Regions from separate parts of the Homo sapiens genome. Here region 2 is linked to region 1. Evidence: promoter capture Hi-C in 16 types of primary human blood cells and fetal thymus (Javierre and others, 2016). All regions are on one chromosome and are shown on one strand. Each heading gives the region's core, a stretch centred on a gene start or on the middle of the fragment in contact. The rest is flanking DNA. Distances are from core to core; before and after follow the strand shown. Region 1 holds the start of DORIP1 (dopamine receptor interacting protein 1). Region 2 has its middle 610 kb from the start of LRFN5.

Region 1 (7,458 bases), core at 1,939-4,438:
TTTGATCTCTTCAAACAGTGTCTTCATCCTACATTTTAAAAGTTTAAAACAGAACACATAAAATTGTAACTTTGTATATTAAATGCATAATATGTTTAAACGAAAATAAATCCATCTAAAGACTCAAATCAAATGTGGTTATTAGGCCTCCCAACATAGCAAAAAAATTTAAATGAGCCACTTTTCGCGCACTATGCATGCTCTCTGGAAAGACCATTTAAGAAGCTGCAGTCTTTTTTTGAGGTACAGATGGCCATTTGATAGGCTTTATATTAATTACATTGCAGATTTTATCTGTGACAGAGGGAAACCCTGTAATAAAAAAAATCCTGAGGCTGGGCACGGTGGCTCACACCTGTAATCCCAGTACTTTGGGAGGCTGAGGCGGGCGATCACCTGAGGTCGGGCGTTCGAGACCAGCCTGACCAACATGGAGAAACCCTCTCTCTATTAAAAATACAAAATTAGCTGGGCGTGGTGGCGCATGCCTGTAATCCCAGCTACTCGGGAGGCTGAGGCAGGAGAATCGCTTGAACCTGGGAGGCGGAGGTTGCGGTGAGCCGAGATCACGCCATCTCATTCCAGCCTGGGCAACGAGTGAAACTCCATCTCAAAAAAAAAAAAAAAAAAAAAAAAAATTCCTAAATGAAAATAAAGCTATTAAAAACATTAACTTTGGTTAGGCATATTCCTAATGTAAACCTCCTCATCTTTCCAAAATACAGGCTGTGCTTGCTTCATTTTCTTGTTAATATGGGTGATTCCACTTAAGAAACTAATATAATGGGATCCTTAATTGGGGGTACAGAATAATAGCCATTACATAATCTTTATATTAACTATACTACATATTTTATTTGTTGTAGAGAAAAACTATGTAAAAAAAAAAACTCCTGTTGCTATATAGACTAAGACTAATTCTGACATTTAGCTTTGAAAGACAGCATGAGGAGTAATCATGAAAATCAATCTTAAGTGAATAGTAGCATAGCTAATATTGCTAATCACTTTGGGATTTTTATTTGCAACTGAGAATTGTGCTATTGTGCAATTTAGATATACTATAATTTTTAACTACAGAGGCTATACTATGAAGATCTGATTCAGAACTTGATAAATATCCTGATTATTCCCTATGCATGTTTTCAGAATGAAGCAAAGCATCCTCCCTTTTCAAACTGGCACTCTTCCCCAACCTTGAGGACCACTAGGCACTTTGTTTTTAAAGCCACAGTAAGTATTTTAATAAATATGTTGTGTTATATGTATGTTATATAGCGCACATACTTTTGAAAGAATGAGTTCTTTTTACAATTGTATTGAAAAAACTCCTTCACTTTACTTGGGACAAGCAAATAAACTAACAACATCATATTGTTTTCCGAGGTTACTTTTATGGAGAAGTATTGTTATGAAAAAAGGGAGGCATCTGAGGAGTGGAAACAGAGAAATGAGTGACTGAGATCAGTGTCTTATTTTGACCATCTTTTCCAAGTGCTGCATCCTCCCAAACACAACATGAACTCAACACTTAATAAAGCTGCAGTCCTACGTGTTTTATTTGTGTAAGAAACTAAGTCCAAAACATTCTGCAACGCGAGTAAAAATTCACTTCTGCAATATATTAAACACACATGAACACAGTGTTTTCAGTTTGAAGCAAGATACTGTGGACTCTAAAATATCCAGTAACTATATTTAGTATGAAGAGTGGATGTTTATATCTAGTTGGCCAACACATTGATTCTAGTCATCCACTTAGGAAGAAGAGGGTGTGGCAAATCTGCAGCCTAGGAAAACACAAACTCAGTTTCTTCGTAATAGATACTGATTCGTTTTGTTTACAAAGATTTTAAAAAACAGTTATGCATTCAAATACTTTAAAAACGAAAATAACTTTATGGTTTGATTTATTTCCGTTGAATTTTAAAGAACTTTGTAGCAAGGTTTAAGATTGCTTAAAGAGCCTGAGTTCGGATTCCTAAAATAGTGCATTGGGAAGGAAGCATAAATCTCTAGGATATTTTCTTCACATTATCTTCAGACATGACCAAATGAAGTGTAACTACCCTTACACTCTAAGAGAATTAAACTATAATGACATATGTGGCATGAAACTTTAGTCTTTCTCTGGAAAAAACGGGAGGAGGGAAGGTTTGGAAGAACTAGAGGATACTAGTTTCATCATGAATTTGGTGATTTGTTCCAAAGTAAATTGCAATAAAAATGAGGGGTGGGGAAAAATGATGGAAAGATAGCTGTGAAGAGCTTTACTTAAAATTGTCTTAGCTGTTTAGCTAGGAACTGTAATTAGAAGGACTGGAGGATGTATTCCGCTGGCTTTATTCTCCAGGCTCTACGGGCCCTCCAATTTGAATAAACCTGGAAAACTCTCCTGACCTCTATTTCTTTGACAAAACATCTTTCTTTCGTGGTGACTTCCAAGGGAGGAAATTGGTACCCCAAGCTAGCCGTGAGGACCCCACCACATGCCCAAGGCATTGAACGCCAGACTCCCTAAGGACTCAGGGATTCTAAAAGTCCCCTCTCAAATCAGCGCCTAAAATACGCCTGTACAGCCACGCGCTACCGCTCCCAGCAGCGCGGGACTTCGGGACAGGGACAAGGCGGACGCTAGGCGTGCGCCCCCGGGGAGCCCCCACGTTCCGGCCACGCCCACCCTGGCCCTGGGCAGCCGCGCCCGGGAGGCCTGGCACCGAGGCGGGCGGGTCCCCGAGTTAGGGGCCCGCGAGTCGGCTGGGCGCCCCCGCCTCTGCCCGGGCAGTGCCCCGCCGAGTGCTCAGAACTGCGGACAAATAGGCTGGAGGGCCGGGCCGCGGAAGGCGTTCCCACACCGGCCAGTCTCCGTCCACCAGGAAGCAAACTCCTCGTACCTCCCTGGGGACCGAAAACTGCCGGTGCCGCCGCACCCGTCGCCGCCGCCGCCTGCTCATGGAGAGCCCGGGCTGCCGCCGCCGCCGCCGCCGCCGCTGCCTCATCTATGAGTACCGCCGGCTGTCTCGGCCTCCCCCGGCGTGAGTTCTGGGCTCTGGCATGGCCTCCATGGCAGCCGCCGCGGCGGGAGCCACAGCAGCTCCAGCGCCCAGGCCCAATCTCACTGGACCCACGGAGCCAGGACAGTGGGACACGTCGCTTCTTATTACGGAGGAAGATTCGGCACGACCTCCGCCCCCCTCCCCCCAACCCCCCCGTTTTCAGCCGCCTGACAGCGCAGCTGCGCAGGCGCGAAGACGCCCCAGCCTAATGTGCGTGTGTCGGCTGTGTATACAGCATCCAGATTCGCCCAATGGGAACCAGGATCAGGTGTGGGGGGCGGGACCTCGCAGAGAGGGGCGGGGTTCCACTGGTAGAAGGTGGGTGGGGAAGCCGGAAGTGGGCAGAGTTTGCACGGAGGCGGAGCTTTATTGGCAAACCTGATTGGCTTTTTGAGGTTTGTACCATTTTAGGACTTGATTTTAGTTTGCTTCTGGGTCTTGTTTTCTCAAATTCTTAACCTAGAAAGAAAGCTTTGTTTTCTCAGTAAATTACGGTTTTTTAAGCGTTTAAGTATTTACTTAGAAAACAGTTGAATTGATCTGTTAAATGCCAGCTTTAGTGTTCAAGTTAATTATTGGCCAATATACTGTAACTTACAGTGGAAGTTAACCCCATTTTGAAAAATTAGATTGTTTTAATTCCATTGTGAAGTTGAAAAAATTGGGTTTTGGAGATAATAAGGTCCCACACAGCAAGTGACGGAGCTGGAAATTACAGTTAGGACAACTTAATGCTAGTTTGTGGGCTCAACCACTATTTCTGTTTATTAGGGCCGAGTTTTTGTATCTCCCGTAAAGAAGCAAGGCCCTGTATGGCTCTGCATCTGGAGAACACAGGCCACCCTGCAAAAACTACCTCTCCTTGCAAGTAGGCATGGAGATCTGGTTGAGATTTTCCCCATCCAGCCTTTCAACAAATAATGAGGGTCTGGAAAGTTAGCTCTAACGTTCAGAACACGTGAGGGCTAATGAGAGAGCTCAAGGCTATCCTAGTAAATCAGTGTGGTTTTCCGTCACAGGCTGAGCCTGGGAGAGGCTGGATGCCTTCTTGACCGGTGTGATGGTCGGCCAAAGCTATGGAGGGGAACTTCCTCATGGATCTCTCTAAAAAAGTCTAGAAATGGAAGAGAGACTTCCATTTCTTGAGTTTTGGCTCTGCCCAAAAAAGAATAATTAATAGCTCTGGCAAAGCCTGCTCTTTTTAGTTTCCTGTTTTTTCTTATTTCTTATGGTATTTTATAGATGAGGAAACTGAGGCTCTTAGAGATAAACTAGTGTGTTGGAAAACTTGCAAAAAGTTCACTCTCAATATTAATCCTCTCCTACAGGTAGAAAAGCCCTTTAAAAATGTTTGTAAATGTGGATTATGTGTTTAATTATAAATCTCTCACAAGACATGGAGTTCATTTTATACTGATTAGGTCATTCTCTTCCTGAAAACAGCCATAGTATGGTGGATGACACCATTTCTGGAGAATAGTATTGAGATTGCTCATTAAACTCTGCCGAGTCTCAGCTAGATGGAGGAAGCATGGATTCCTTGAATACTTGGATAACTCACAAACATCACTGAGGCCTTTAACTGAAATTTCCATTCTGCATCTTTTCCACCGTCTTCAAAATCTGACATCTGAGTTGTAGGGTTTTTTTAGATATATTTACTGAAGTATAATTGGCATAGAATATATAGAGCATACTTAAAGTGTATAATTTTTATCAGTTTTGACATATGTATAACCCCTTAAACCATCACTGTGATCAAATGAGTATGCCCATCACACTTAAGTTTCTGCTTACCTACCGCCCCCCAACTCTGCCTTTTTTTTTTTTTTTTTTTTTTTTTTTTTTCAGAATCCTGATCTGTTACCCAGGCTGGAGTGCAGTGAATGATCTCGGCTTATTGCAACTTCCGCCTCCCAGGATCAAGAGTTTCTGGTATCTCAGCTTTCCGAGTAGCTGGGATTATAGACGTGCACCACCATGCCTAGCTAATTTTTGTATTTTTAGTAGAGGCAGAGTTTCACCATGTTGGCCAGGCTGGTCTCAAACTCCTGGCCTCAGGTGATCTGCCCACCTCGGCCTCCCAAAGTGCTGGGATTACAGGCGTGAGCCACCACACCTGGCCCTCATTCTCTTAGCAGTGTATTTTGAAGAGAAGTTTTAACTTTTAATAAAGTTTAATTTATTTATTATTTTATGGATTACATTTCTAGTGTTGTTTCTAAGAAATTTTTGCCTACCCCAAGCTCACAAAGAAATTTTCCTATGTTTTCTTATAAAAGTTTTATGTGTTCAAGCTGTACATTTAGATGTATGATGCATTGTAGTTAACTTTCTTATATAGTTTGAGGCATGTATCCAAGTTCATATTTGATGTATGGATACCCAGTCATCGCAGCAATTTTTTTTTTGAAAAGCCTGTACTTTTTCCACTGGGTTGCTTTTGTGCTTTTGTCAAAAATTAGTTGCGCAGCTTGGGCGCAGTAGCTCACGCCTGTAATCCCAGCAGTTTGGGAGGCCGAGGCGGGCGGATCACAAGATCAGGAGATCGAGACCATCCTGGCTAACATGGTGAAACCCCGTCTCTACTAAAAATATAAAAAATTAGCCGGGCATGGTGGCGGGTACCTGTAGTCCCAGCTACTTGGGAGGCTGAGGCAGGAGAATGGCGTGAACCAGGGGGGCGGAGCTTGCAGTGAGCCGAGATCACACCACTGCACTCCAGCCTGGGCGACAGAGCGAGTCTCCATCTAAACAAAAAAACAAAAACAAAAAAATTAGTTGCCCAATACCATTTTATAAACACTTTATTTATTTATTATCAATCATCAACCATATGTCACACAGTATGCTAGCAGTGGAGATATCAGTAAGTGTTCTTTGGTTGCAAAGACTGGAGACCAATATTGTTAATTTAAATAGGACATTTTTGGGGTTTTTTTTTGTTTTGTTTTGTTTTTTTTTTGAGACAGACTCTCGCTCTTTCGCCCAGGCCGGACTGCAGTGGCGCTATCTCGGCTCACTGCAAGCTCCGCCTCCCAGGTTCACGCCATTCTCCTGCCTCAGCCTCCCGAGTAGCTGGGATTACAGGCACCTGCCACTGTGCCCAGCTAATTTTTGTATTTTAAGTAGAGACGGGGTTTCACTGTGTTGGCCAGGCTGGTCTTGAATTCCTGACCTCAGGTGATTCACCCGCCTCAGCCTCCCAAAGTGCTGGGATTACAGGTGTGAGCCACTGCTCCCGGCCTTCTACTAGTCTCAATAAGTCCTCTTTAGAATTCAAATTATAATGCTCAGTTACATTACTAGTAAACTATTTTTAATCTCATTTTTCCAAAAGCTGAATTTTTGCTTTAAATCTATAAACTTTGTTGGTAGATGTTTAAAAAGGTCCAGACTCCACCACAACAGATAATCCAGTAATTATCCTGGGATGTAAAAATATCTGAAAAGATGAGAGGAAGACATTGATATCTGAACTTAAAGTTACAGAGCCTGTTTGGAGAGGCTATGTGACAGACACAACCAGCCCATAATTACCCCTCAATGAGAGGCCTTGAGAAAGAAATATCCTGATATCACTTTTCTCCTCCCTCTGATATAATGATGTGTTGTCATTATTTCTATTATTGTATACCGTTTGAAAGTGACACATTTTCTATCGCCCTTGCTTTGTTGATTGACAGTTCTGACAGTTTCCATGCTGGTTGACAAAACAAGTGATTCTGCAGTTGCATAAAGTTACATCTATTTTACTCCTGTCATTTGTGCTGTGCTTGCTGTACATTTTTACTGCTATATGGGAATTTAAGAAATAATTTTAAAGTGTTTATTATTATTATTAATTTATTTTTTGAAACAGAGTCTCACTCTGTTGCCTACCACACTGCAGCCTCATCCTCCCAGGCTCAAGGGCTCCTCCCACCTCAGCCTTCCAAGTAGCTGGGACTACAGGTGTATGCTACCATGCCCGGCTAATTTTTTTTGTATATTTTTTGTAGAGAAGGGGATTCACTCCATTGCCCAGGCTGGTGTTGAACTCCTGGACTCAAGCGATCTACCCAACTCGTCCTCCCAAAGTGTTGGGACTACAGGGATGAGCCACTGCGCCAGGCCAAATGAAAAAATAATTCATACTATCTTTGTTACCAGTCTTAAAATTTAAAATATACCCCATTTTATTTCATTTTTTTGAAACTTATCCTTTAAAAAATTGGTTTAAAGTCTTATTTTTCTGTTGGGTCTCATGTTCTTGGTAAAGTGGTCGTTAGATCAAGTTTGATGTACACAAATACCATTTATCTGTCTATCCTAGTACATTTGCTGAGCTCCCATCATGAACTTTGAGTCCCTGAGGATCTTGAAGTTAAGAAGGTTCCTGCTCTAGAAAATATGTAAGCTG
Region 2 (7,458 bases), core at 3,020-5,519, 2.7 Mb after region 1:
AGGTAGAGGACATTATTTACCTTTATTTTATTCACTGGAAGACATGCATCATTTATATATGGATGAGAATGAAAGAGCAGGTGTGTACCTGCTGCAGCAGTGGGTTACTATCAACTTTAAAATCAGGACCTGGGTGTACAAAATGCAGAGTACTAGAGCTCCTTATATGCCTTTTAAAGCTAAATTAAACACAATCCCTACTGTAGATAAATATTCAATAATATTTTTTAATATGATAAGCACAAGAAAATATATATTTTGAATGTTATGAGTTTCTTTTTTTCAAGTATCAGGCAGGCAAGGAATGAGAACGTGGTTTGGATAATGAAGTAATTCCAAGGGTCTACCTAATATTACCACCAAAAGAGCCACCATTCCCACTTTCACTAATATTCATGCTATTTTAAACAACTTCCAATTTTGGAGTGTCTCTAATGGGATAGAGAATGTGATAAGTGTTTAATACACGTTGTCTCTATTGTACTTTTCAGTGTCACTGAGAATTGCAAATATGTACAAAATGAAGGGGTATGGAGGTGGTTCACTCACACTTTTTTGTCCCCAGGGTCTCTGTCACTTCACTAGGCTACACTGTCCATCCATTTATACAAATCACATATAGTGTTTTTTTTTAATGCAATGTGTCTGCCCCTTATAAAAGTAAATCATCTAGGCTTAGGAAGCTGGCTTAATACCCATGTCAGGGCCTTAGCCCCCACCCTACACCTCCCTCTATGCATCAGTTACACATAGTGATCAAAGTCTGAACTTGAATACTACTCTGCAAAGCCTCCCCTGTAGCTTACATCCAACTTTATGCATGCTTTTATTACACAACTTTGCATCGTAATCACTTATATTCCTCTCATTAGGCTAGAGTGCAAGGTACCTAAAGATGTAATCCATGCTTTTCATCCTTGTGCTCCCAGTTCTTAATACATTGACCAGGAACAAATAGGCATTAAATAGATAATTGTTGAACAAATTACTGTGTCTCCTTAAGGAAGAAGATTTCCTGTGAAGAGACAGGGGCTGCCCCCTGGCAAGTCTGGTCTAGAAAGGACGGCTGACATTGCAGAGTTGTGAAATAGTTGCTTGGGGTTATCTCTTAATTCTGTGCAATTGTTTCAGCATTTCATGCTCAATCAATATTCTCTTATACATACATTACTTCATTCAATCTAGCCATATCACAGTTTACTTTCTCTGATAAAATTCTCTTTTAAAATACCACATTAATAATTTAGTGAGGATTATAGAGATGAGGATTTGATCCTTGGAGGTCAGTGTCTATGATGGTCAAAATTAGTTGATCAGAGTTCAGGAGAAGAAGGATGAAATTGAATTGTCTAAAGATTTTATTTTATTTATCTATCTATTTATTTATTTATTTATTTATTTTTGAGACGGAGTCTTGCTCTGTTGCCCAGGCTGGAGCACAGTGGCATCATCTTGGCTCACTGCAACCTCTGCCACCCAGGTTCAAGTGATTCTCCTGTCTTAGCCTCCTGGGTAGCTGGGACCACAGGCGCCCACCACCATGCTCGGCTAATTTTTGTATTTTTAGTAGAGAAGGTGTTTCACCACATTGGCCAGGCTGGTCGTGAACTCCTGACCTTGTGATCTGCCCACCTCAGCCTCCCAGAGTAGTGGGATTACAGACATGAGCTACCGCGCCCTGTCTAAAGATTTTATGGCTTATTCAAGCACAGTTCTGAACTTTGTGTGAGTGTGTTTGTGTGTGTGAGAAAGAGAAGAAAAGAGAGAGCGGTATACAGCAGAAGTAAAGCAGGATCAGACTTTGGAAGGTAATTTTAACACATATGGTTGTATGAATGAGGTAGAAGAATTTTCCATAATCTTAAAAATTGAAAAGTCTTATAATGGCAGTAGGACACCGAAAAGGTAAAGTCCCCAGTAAATGATAGTATGTAGAAAAGATCTGTAATCCAATGATAAAGTTAAGGTTAAGCAAAACTAAGTTATTAGCAGATATAAATGAAGGTAGAAGTGTTTTCAACTATATTTATCAGAATGAAACAGAGACCTCATCATTCCCCATATGATGAAATACATTGAGAATATTATATTTCACAAATGAGATATAATATTTGATAGCACAGGAAGGTGACTATTGTCAAGAATAATCTATTGTATATTTAAAAATAATTATAAGAGTGGAATTGGAATGTATTTAACAAAAAGAAATCATACATGCTTGAGGTGATGGGTACTCCAATTACCCTAATGTTATTATTATACATTATATGTATGTATCAAAAGATCACATGTACCCCATGAGTCTATACACCTGGTATGTACCCATAATAATAAAAAAAAATAAAATGTTAAAAATAACATTATATAGGCCGGATGCAGTGGCTCACACCTGTAATCCCAGCACTTTGGGAGGCCGAGGTGGGCGGATCACGAGGTCAGCAGATTGAGACCATCCTGGCTAACACAGTGAAACCCCGTCTCTACTAAAAATACAAAAAAAAAAAAATTAGCTGGGCGCTGTGGAGGGCGCCTGTAGTCCCAGCTTCTCAGGAGGTTGAGACAGGAGAATGGCATGAACCCGTGGGGTGGAGTTTGCAGTGAGCCGAGATCGTCCCACTGCACTCCAGCCTGGGCGACAGAGCAAGACTCTGTCTCAAAAAAATAAAAAAATAAAAAAAATAAATAACATTTCTGAGTTTTTTCCTATTTTTAATTCTATGACACCTATATACTAATAGTATATGTAGCTATTCTCAACTGAAAAGAATATAGCAGTAAATTTTAAATTTTATTAAGTAGTGTTCTCAGGATTTTAGAAGCTATCTAGCTAGACAACTTAAGTCAGTTAGGTTGTATAACATTTTGTCACCAAAGACTTCTACTCATAGCTCTACTTTTATCTGTTTTATTAAGCTTCTTTGTAAGCCTTTGAAGAAAATAAAGAACTCTTGCTAAAACAAAACAAACAAAATAGTATCTGAAAATTTATCCATCAATATACAAAGACAAAAACAGGAGGAAAAAAAGACAAACATTTGGGTGTTTAAAACAGAGACTAGGTTACTCAGATGATGGAAGAGCCTGAGGAAACAAACAGTTGTCAGGGAAACAACCCAAAAATAGCAACTGCAGTAGGCCACTACTTCCATGCCCAGGCAAGAGGAACAAAAAGAAAACATGAGCTAAAAAAGAACTTAGGACTTGGGGTCACTTGACCTTTCTATTTCAGAGCTCCACCTTCTTTTCTGTAAAGCACATTTTCCAGCTGACCTCTTAAAAAGGACTTTTTTTTTGGCTGTGTAAAAGGTTTTTGAAAAGACTAATAGATTCAACTAGGTTTCCCTACTTGCCCTGGAAATTATCACTGTGGCAAGGGGTAGGGCATCCTGACAACTAAGGCTTAGGTCATGTGCCATGTGGTTAGTCACAGGACCAGGAGTGTGTTATTTCAATGACAGGGATATGGAATCAGCTTTAACAAAACCACAAGGTCCAAGATTATCATGGGATAAGAATGGTGAGAGGAGGTAGGTGTTTTCCAAAAGAAAGAATGCTTCAGGACAAAACAACACAGTTATTACCATTAGAAATATTCATGCTCATTGCACAAAACTTAGATTACTGAAGAGGTATATTCTATTCATAGCATACTAACTGTAACTCCACCCACTCAAAAAGCATATTGGAAAACAAACGAGTGAGGTACTAAATTAGAAATTTTCTTGAGTCCCTCACATTTGTACATATTTCAAAATTAAAACATTGTAAACTTTTGTTATTTAAATATTACCATTAAACTTTATGATCCTTTTATATGACACATACCTGTCTATTGGGACCACAATTTAAATTTGATGTTTTAAAAAGGGGTAGTATCAACTCCACGTCTTTTTTCAGAAACATCACCATTATCCAATGCTTTAATTGCACAGCAATTAAAGTGTCCAGAACTTATTTTTGGGTGGGGAAGGTGGAAGAATGAGGAGCAGCAGACTCCCCAACTAACTACTGGCTTCAGCAAGCAGCAGTGGCCACTGTTGTATCAGAAAAAGAAAAGGAAAAGGAAAAGCTGAGAATAGGGAGAGTCATTCCTAGTGTCAGCAATTATTTTGAATGGGTCACCTTGATGGATTTGGTATGGAAGAAGGAAAAGAAGCTTCTCCGGGTGCCTCGGTCAAAGCTAGGTTTTCACTTAAGTGGGCAGTTATATATTTATGTAAGATATTTACAATTCAAGTGGCACATACTGTTAAATATCAGTATTATTTTTACATCTGAAAAATATGCACCATATCTAGTCTTACAAAATTATGATTTTTTTAATATTTCCAAGTTTATATTATTCAACAGCAATAGAATTTAAAAAACTGCAAAGAAGCTTCAAAAAGTGATTAGGAATCAACATCATATTACAGGGAAAATGAGCATAAAATTCACTAACAGCTTTTCATCACCTATATCATGCATAAATACTACAATAATAATACACATGACAGAGAGTATCTGCTTAGTTATCACAGTATTGTGATCCTGAGAAGTTTTTCATTCTAAATTTCATTTCAGAGGAATATAAAAATAATACAGCAGTAAAATTAAATAGCAATGGAAAATAATGAGAGAAGGAAAAGGCATTAGTTATGTGAGTAGGAAAGCGTTAAGAATGCTTTAAAGTGAAATTACACTTACAATACATGGAAGGTCAATGAGGCACATACAGAAAAGTTGTAGTAAAGGTGTAGGTTTTAATATCATATGAATCTGTTCCTTTTGTAGGTAGAAGGTATGAGATCTATGACTCAAAAAGAGATAAAAGATGAAGTTACTATGTATGAAAAGCATATTTTGATTGTATTTACAGTGATTTCAAAAACTAAAGATATTTTTCAAAAATGAAATTGAATTCACCATTATTACTTATAGTGTATATTATTTTTAAATAGTCATTTCTCCATTTCTCTAAACCACTGCCTATAGGCGGCTTTTAACTTACAATTGTCTACAATTGTTATAGAAACACATATATAACTTAATAGCCATCAGCTTCGGCTTCCATAGTATATTTTTCTGACTCTGTTCATAAGCATTAAGAAATTTAATTCTTCTGAACGCTTATTTTAATTGATACTATTTGATGCACTTTGAGTTTTTTTAGAGAAATTGAATTTCATTCACACTTAGGAAAGCAGGCAGCTAACATCAAACTCAAAAGACATTGGTAACTGATAATTTATTACATACATTTCCTGATGTCTCTCTTTAGAATATAAAATGTATACATCATAATATTACATATTGAACCATGTTTGATTTTGTTCTCTGGACCCTTGATAATCAACAGACTCTAGAAATAGAGGTCTATAGGACAAAGCTCCAAATATAAAGCTATACTCTTCCTGTTTTCCGCCAAATGTAGTTGTAGTTTTAACTTTGTCATATATTAAAATCAACATTTATCCACAGCAGGAATCATTGACATGCTACAATTTTAATTTTTGATGATATAAGTTAAAAGTATTTGCCAGTTCCTCTGTCACATAAATGTTTACTTTCCAAGACAGGCAGAAATCATCCAAGGCTCTTCCTTGAGAAAAAAAGATTGTTCGAGTTGGGAAATAACCACGTTCTTATTTCTTGTTTTTGCTTTATATTTATTTTTGCACTACTGCTTTTACCAGTGAGAGTTCTAAACTTGATAAAATGTTAGACTTCAAATTTTACCTTTCTGAATAAAACTTTCCCCAGATCTTCACGAGCTGTGGAAATATTTGACTTTGTTTATACACAGAACTGGGGAGAAAAGCACTAACAATCTAGTTCCATAAATTATTTCCAAGAAAATGATTGCTTTTTGAAAAAAATAAATTAAAAATATCTTATTTTGTTCTGTAATTTTCTGCCACTGTAAGAATACAAAATGCAAATACAGATACAAAATAAGAAAATATAAAAAACACAAAAAGTACTTTTGGTGCATATTTACTGTAGAGAAAATGTTAATAGAACACAGAAAAATTCTGTAATATTTACCAGAAAAGCCAAACCCAAGAAGGTTATTACTAAATCTGATTTATGTTCCTCTACTGTAGCACTTATTATGGGAAGTTCAATATTGGTGAAAAACTTTCTGATGGTACACAGTCAATTTTCAAGTAATCTACTAAAAGTATTTCTTAAATAAAAGAGTGTGAGCTACTGAAGACAGAAATATGCTAGAAATGATTTTTAAGATTTCTAGTATATGTAGTTTATTATGTTGAAATAAAAATAATGGGATTATGCATTGTCCACTGGAGTTAAGCAACTTAGATACTAGTTACCCTCCCATATAAGCCTATCTATTTTTAATCACTAGGTACTAGTTACCCTCCCATATAAGCCTACCTATTTTTAATCACTGGGTATGTGATTCTTAGTTATCTATAAAGGTTAAAGAATGACATATTACCTAACTGAACTCAGAAGAATAGGACAGATAATTTCTGCAATTAATGATTCTACAAGTAGCATTCCTTCTAAGAATTATGTAGTATAATGATATAAATAATTTACAATGAACACATTCATTGCACATAGAGATATTTTCCACATTAGGTGAGTATTTTTGAAATATATACATATATGTTTATATATATATATATATGTGTGTGTGTGTGTGTGCATGTATTTTTTTTTTTTTTTTTGAGCACTTATTCTGTTCCCAGGCATGAGTGTTGGAAATATGATTGTAAGCAAAATAAAAAATGCACTTGCTCTCATGGACATAAATAGATGAGGAAGAAAATACAGATGCAAAATATATACATAAGTAATTAAGTATTATCTAAAGAAATTAATTCTGTTAATTGAGTGGAGATTGACTCCTTAAGTGGCCTTTCAGAAAAGAACTGAATGACATGAGGGCAAACCATACTTAGCACTAGGAAGAATGAAACAATTACTAATACATGTTCCATTGCCCTAAAGTTCTCACTGTCTCTGAGAAAAGACAGACATATGTCCAGTCATACAAGATAGATACAATAAGTGCCATTAAAGGTAAAAAAAAAAAAAAAAAGGCCTCAGAAGGAGACACAGGGTGAAATGATTTTCATCTTGTAAAAAGGAGAAGTTCTATGGAGAACATGACATTAGTGCAGTATACTGGAAAATATGTGGATGAACTCAGTAAGTGGATTTTACCAAAACCCTAAAATGCCATGTGAATAGAAATATGAATAAAACAAAATAAAATGTAGGATTTCATCAATAGCAGCAAGTCTGTACTATTGAATATTGATTTTATATTTCGGAAATGGCCAATATTAAACTAGAGCCAATTCTAGTTTGATGGAACTTCTTTGGTCAAAATAAAATGTGACAAAAAACAAGCGTTTCATGTAGTTTGCATATTTACAAAAGTATATTCTCTAGTCATGCACTTTTCCTTGCTGCTGTTTCCACTACCCAGAAAGAGTGACT

The links. The method cuts DNA at HindIII sites, captures the fragments that hold promoters and counts their contacts. A CHiCAGO score of 5 or more calls a contact.
Region 2: a fragment that was not itself captured here is called in contact with the fragment with the promoter of DORIP1 in region 1 in 1 of 17 cell types (M0 macrophages); the score reaches 5.8 in M0 macrophages.

The regions. Positions count from the first base shown.
Region 1 is chr14:44,893,005-44,900,462 of GRCh38, reverse strand. It overlaps DORIP1 (dopamine receptor interacting protein 1), which reads right to left and starts at 3,188. Exons shown (of 5, transcript NM_001017923.2): 1 at 2,895-3,188; 2 at 1-28. The coding sequence starts at 27. It overlaps LOC101927418 (a long non-coding RNA gene), which reads left to right. Exons shown (of 3, transcript NR_110050.1): 2 at 1,150-1,233; 3 at 1,387-1,555. RefSeq lists silencers at 2,534-2,853, 2,874-3,003 and enhancers at 2,370-2,869, 3,494-3,543. The HindIII fragment of the contact is 3,873 bases long and covers 1-3,529 here.
Region 2 is chr14:42,211,086-42,218,543 of GRCh38, reverse strand. No RefSeq gene overlaps it. Among named protein-coding and RNA genes, the nearest start is that of LRFN5, 610 kb to the right of the region's middle. The HindIII fragment of the contact is 222 bases long and covers 4,159-4,380 here.